Linked DNA regions of Homo sapiens: region 2 is linked to region 1. Evidence: promoter capture Hi-C in human tissues and cell types (Jung and others, 2019). All regions are on one chromosome and are shown on one strand. Each heading gives the region's core, a stretch centred on a gene start or on the middle of the fragment in contact. The rest is flanking DNA. Distances are from core to core; before and after follow the strand shown.

Evidence for each region. Contacts are between HindIII fragments. The study calls those that stand out against the background at their distance.
Region 2: a contact is called between a fragment that was not itself captured here and the fragment with the promoter of JAM2 in region 1, in 3 of the 25 tissues and cell types used here (dorsolateral prefrontal cortex, lymphoblastoid cells and mesenchymal stem cells).

What each region holds. Positions count from the first base shown.
Region 1 is chr21:25,637,822-25,640,558 of GRCh38, forward strand. JAM2 (junctional adhesion molecule 2) reads left to right here and starts at 1,437. Exons shown (of 10, transcript NM_021219.4): 1 at 1,437-2,067. The coding sequence starts at 2,001. RefSeq lists enhancers at 1,070-1,209, 1,947-2,447, 2,350-2,419 and a silencer at 1,430-1,619. The HindIII fragment of the contact is 5,846 bases long and covers 1-2,438 here.
Region 2 is chr21:25,688,400-25,691,170 of GRCh38, forward strand. It overlaps JAM2 (junctional adhesion molecule 2), which reads left to right. Exons shown (of 10, transcript NM_021219.4): 3 at 1,467-1,574. Among named protein-coding and RNA genes, the nearest start is that of ATP5PF, 45 kb to the right of the region's middle. The HindIII fragment of the contact is 7,820 bases long and covers 1-2,771 here.

The DNA.
Region 1 (2,737 bases), core at 187-2,686:
CTTGGACAAGCCATTTAGTGTCTCTCCGCCCAGTTTTCTCATCTGCAAAGTGGGAATGATAACATTTCCTCTTTTATGGAGTTGTTGGGGGATTAGATATTGCGTTATTCAGACTCCATCACTGAGAAAGCATGCAATAAAAATAGCTGTTATTATTTTCTGTCCTCCTGTAACATTTACCATGTGGTATCAGGCATCTTTCCTGATAAGACTCTGTCTCCCCTCAAGACTGTGAGCTTGTTAGCAAGAAAGCCTCTATCTTGTTCATGGTTGTCCTTCAGCATCCAGCACATTGTTGCCATTTGTCAAATGCCTTGGCTGGGTGGCAAATAAATAACTTAGTCAGTTACTCACATAGGATTGCATAGAATTTTTTTAAGTATGACATTTTTGTGTATATTTTTAGGGAGGAGTAAAAGACATATAGCTGTAGCAAGAATTAGAAAAAAGAAGATGCCAACAACTTTTCTTTTTAAGCATCAAATCCTTCTCATTACTGCCCAGAAAAACTGGCATAAGCTGTTGTTAAATCTGTGCCCCTTCTCCTCGGTTGACTGGAGTACGAGTTTTAACATTTTGCCATTTTGACTTTCCTTTCTGGGTCCCCTGGGTCCTCTCCTCCCACCCCCTCCCTGGGTACTAAGTTTTCATCACTGTCACCACGGCAACAGCAAGGATGCCTCATTCCTCACAGTTCTGCACAGCTAAACTCTGGTCGCCTTTGTCCACTGAGCTAGCTGAATTCTTTTTAAATACACCACTAAATCAACTATCTGCTGTACAGAACTTCATCCATTATTCAACCTTTAAAAAAAAACAAAAACAAAAACAAACAAAAAAACAAAAGAAAAAAACTGATGTATACTAATTTCTTCTCCTGGGAATGGCCTTTTTCCAGACCTGCCAATACTCTTGAATACACCATACATTTTTGGTCCCTAGGAACAAATATAAAAATTGCCAGTGTACGTGCGTCCAATGTAAGTGTGGTGCAATTTTAAAGCACGCAACAGAGCATTCATAATGGGTTTCCCTTTTAAAAGCACAGTAGACCAAAAATAAACCTGACAAAGGGCAGCTGTAGAGTTTTAACACGTGGAAAACTCCACAAGCAGCAGTTATGTAACTTGAAAGAAACATGATAAATATTTCACACCATTAGATGAACTTCCAACTCTGACACTGAAAAAAAAGCAAAGAACAAGAACGCGAGACAAATGCACCTCAAATCTCCAAGGAGCAAAAAGCTTAAACTGAGAAGGGACCAAGGCTGTACTAAAATCTGAGACCTGACTTCCAGCACGAGTCTTGATTGCTTTTTTTTTTCTCGAGTTCGAGGCGGAGCCCGCGAACCCCATCTCCTCAGAGCGCCACCCCCTCAGCTTCGCCCGTTGGGCAGAATTTTCCAAATATCTCCACCCCTAGGCTGAAAAGCCAGAAAGAAGTTTTGAGCCAACGAGGGGAAGAAAGGAGTTGGGGCAAAACAGGAGGCGTTTCCCTACCCGCATACATCCCCGTCCCCGAGACACCCAATCCCCCCACCCCCAGCCTGCCCGCGCCTCCCGCCCCCAGCTCCTCGCCCTGGGGACAGCTGGCAGCCCCGCGCGGACCAGACACAAAGCCGATCAATCCCGGAGGCGTGGGGGCGGAGGGACGACCCGCCGGGGCTTTCCCGGGCGCTGCTCTCCTCCTGCTGCCCCCTCGCTAGGACCCGGCGGACGCCTCGTCTGGTTTTCACGCCCTCTAGCCCCTACCCCCACACCCCCAAAACAGAACAGACCCCCATCCCTGGGCTGGAGGACCCGCCTCTTGGCAGCCAGCTGAGAAGGCGCCCCGGGGAGGGGGAAACTGACATCCCATCTAGAGCCGTCCCTCCTCTTCCTCCCCTCCCGACTCTCTGCTCCTTTCCCGCCCCAGAAGTTCAAGGGCCCCCGGCCTCCTGCGCTCCTGCCGCCGGGACCCTCGACCTCCTCAGAGCAGCCGGCTGCCGCCCCGGGAAGATGGCGAGGAGGAGCCGCCACCGCCTCCTCCTGCTGCTGCTGCGCTACCTGGTGGTCGCCCTGGGCTGTAAGTTGCTCGGGTTCCTCTACCCTTCCTGCCTGGACCAGCCTGCCCCCACCCTCCAGCCCCCCACGGGGCGCTGGCTGACAGTGTCTGGGCGGCTCTGGGCCGAGGTCGCCGCGGGGCGTCTGACCTTGCGCCCAGGCGAGCGGGAAACCCAGGGTGCCCGCGAGCGGACGCTGGGAGCAAGGGAGCGCGAGGTCGTGGGTTTCTTGTGAATTGCGTCTGATTTTGTCAGTTCTAGATACAGAAAATTAAGGGTTCCCACTAGCAGGTTCTCATCTGTTTGCAAAGTTGGGGTAAGTTTTCAGACAGAGGGACGTGATTCGAATGCAAAACTCACTACCCACTGGTAAGATGCTAAGACCCCAAGAAAGATGGCATCACTGGGAGGCGGGCGCCGGCCACACTTTGAGTCCCCGGGGAGGGGGCAGCGTCCGCGTGGTCTGGGCTCTGTAGCGTCCCAGCTGAGCCGGCGATATGCAGCGCACTTGTGGGGCGGAGGTGGAGGGAATTCGTGGCTGCTGAGCCAGAATTACTTTTATCCTCTCCACCTGCACATCTACATTCACTTAGAGAAGTCTGGTCTGGGGACTCTAGCCAGCTGCTCTGTCCTCAGGGGACATCCAACGGGACGATTGTTAGAAAGATTCAGAAGCCACATGATCCAGTAGCT
Region 2 (2,771 bases), core at 124-2,623, 51 kb after region 1:
GTGTGGGTGTGTGTTTAATTGTTGGAAACTCACAAAATACCGGAAGGAAACCTATCTACAACTCAAGACTCCGGAAGGTCACCACCCATTCTCCTTAATCAACAGAAAAGAACTGTGTTTCCTCAGACAGGTCCCTTAGCACACGTTTGTCTTTGTAGCATAATTGTAAACATGTCTGTAAAATGATGTCTCTTTGTAATGTAAAACCTGCTTTAAAAACTTTAGACATTCTTGAAAACAACTTTTGGTTCTTTTCTTCCTTGCCTTTCTTTTCTCTGCCCTACTTTCTATTTTCCATTACCTTTTATTCCATTTTTGTATGTCCAGCAATATGTGTGGAATGAAAAAAATTAGAAACTAAATATTCTGCATTCTTTTTTAACATTCATTTGCTTAACATTAAAATCAAAGGTATGAAAAGGATTTTAAAATAATTTCTGGTCAAAGATACTGTGCTTTTTTAGGTCAAACCATATGCCTTGTGGGGAAAAAAGTATTTCAGAAACATGGAATTGACATTCTAGAGAGCCTGGTTAAAAAAATACTTTTAAAAATATTTATAACTGGAGGTTTCCATTTGGCAACTTGAGGCAGTTCCCAGACTGGCACTGGGTTTTTTGTTTTTTTTTTTTTCTCTCAGACATCTCGTTTGGACAGTGAAAAGAAGGGGGTTCCTTTGGAGGCTCCAAGTATTAATGACACAATTGCAGTAAATTTCTTGTAATAAAAGAACTTAGCTACATTGAGGCAGTTACACTTGATGCTAAGATTTAATACTTTAATAATTATCTGGACTGAGGCAAGGTTATATAGGCAGTTGTTTGGGGGTAAAAATCAATGATTTATTAGGAGACCATATTGGATAGGTATTAATGTATTTGTAGAGAAGGTTGACAAAGAAGGGATCTGAGTGAGAATATAGCATGTTGTGGAAACTTTTCTGAGTTTCCCAGCATGTCCCTGGCTGGATTCAGTGCCTTTCTTGGGTACTAAGCATGAATCACCATCTGCATAGCTGGTATTCAGCAACACTGGGCTGAAACGCCATTATCTTAGTTGCCTCTTCTACCAGATGGTAGACTCCTTCAAGACTGACACTGGGAATAATAAGACACATAGTTAATCATAGCTGCCATTTGTTAAGTCCTTACTATGTCCAAGCCTGTGTGCTTTGCATATCTTATTGCATTTGAAGACTCACAACAACTCTGTGAAATACTAGCCCATTTACAGATGAAAACTCAAACTTGATAACCAGGGAAATAAGCACAGTGTCATACAGTTACTATGTGGAAGAGCTAGAAGGCTTCCAATTCATGGGACCTGTTGATGTAATTTATGAATGAATGAATGAATAAAACTATAAAGGAGTAATTTAAAGTTGTTTACAATTTTGTTACCTAGTTAAGTAAAATATAAATTCATGGGGACAATTAGAAAACAAGTATTTTTATTGTTGTTCCTAGAGGCTATTTTAGCCTGCAAAACCCCAAAGAAGACTGTTTCCTCCAGATTAGAGTGGAAGAAACTGGGTCGGAGTGTCTCCTTTGTCTACTATCAACAGACTCTTCAAGGTAAGCAGCTGTAGGCTTGAAGAGGTGTGAGCAAGAGAATGCCAAGTACAACCAGGATCCTTTAATTGGCAAATGAGATCGGACATGACTGATTACTGAAAATGTGTTTTTGTAAGTGTGAGATGAAAGCAACCATGTCTGAGACATAAAACACAATAGCCACAAAAGCAGAGAACAGAGGGAGGTGAAGCCCACTGAATCCCTGGACTCTTCTCTCTCAACTCAGGCATAAAGTATGCAAAATGCAATTGCTCTTATTGGCTCAGTAGATTAAACTCCGTTCCTTCCTTCCTTTCTCTTCTTTCTTTCTTTCTCTTTATTTCTTTCTTTCTCTTCCTTCCTTCCTTCCTTCCCTTTCTTGCCTTTCTTTCTTTTTTCAAGATTTTGTTCTCTTGCCCAGTCTGGAGCACAGTGGTATGATCATGGCTCACTGCAGCCTCCACCTCCAGGGCTCAAGTTATCCTCCCATCTCAGTCCCCAAGTAGGTGGGACTACAGGTGCACACCAGTATGCTCAGCTAATTTAATTTTATTTATTTATTTATTTTTTTGTAGAGATGAGGTGAGGTCTCCCTATGTTGCCCAGGCTGGTCTTGAACTCCTGGGCTCAACCCATCCTCCTGCCTCGGTCTCCAAAAGTACTGGAATTACAGGTGTGAGCCACTTGCCTGGCTATAGATAAACTCCTGAGGGAAAGGAATTAAAAAATGGTGTGGTTTGGAAATGGAAGGTTGCTTCTCAGTCATAATGCTGTCACCCTATTTCCTTAACTCCATTTGAAAGGTAGGCCACCACTGAGAAGCTCAGGGAGTTAAGACTTATGGGTGGGTTATGACAGCAACCATTATCAAGTGCTTTCTTTTCTTTTTTTTCTTTTGTTATACATTTCTTTCTACTACCTACTCTTGCCATTGAATATGTGATGAACTTATAATTTAAAATATTGATAATGATGGATGAACTGTTATAATGTCCATTTGCTTCAAAATAAACCAGTGGTTAATGATACAGATGAAACAAGATAAACCATGCATTGATTACTATTATAGCTGGTCAATGATACATTGAGGTACAATTCACTTCACTTTCTAATGTTGTGTATGCTTGAATCTTTCCATTATAAATATTTCTAAAGCTGGAAATACAATTTTACAAGTTAAAATAAACATGTTATGATTTTAAAATACTATGTATTTCT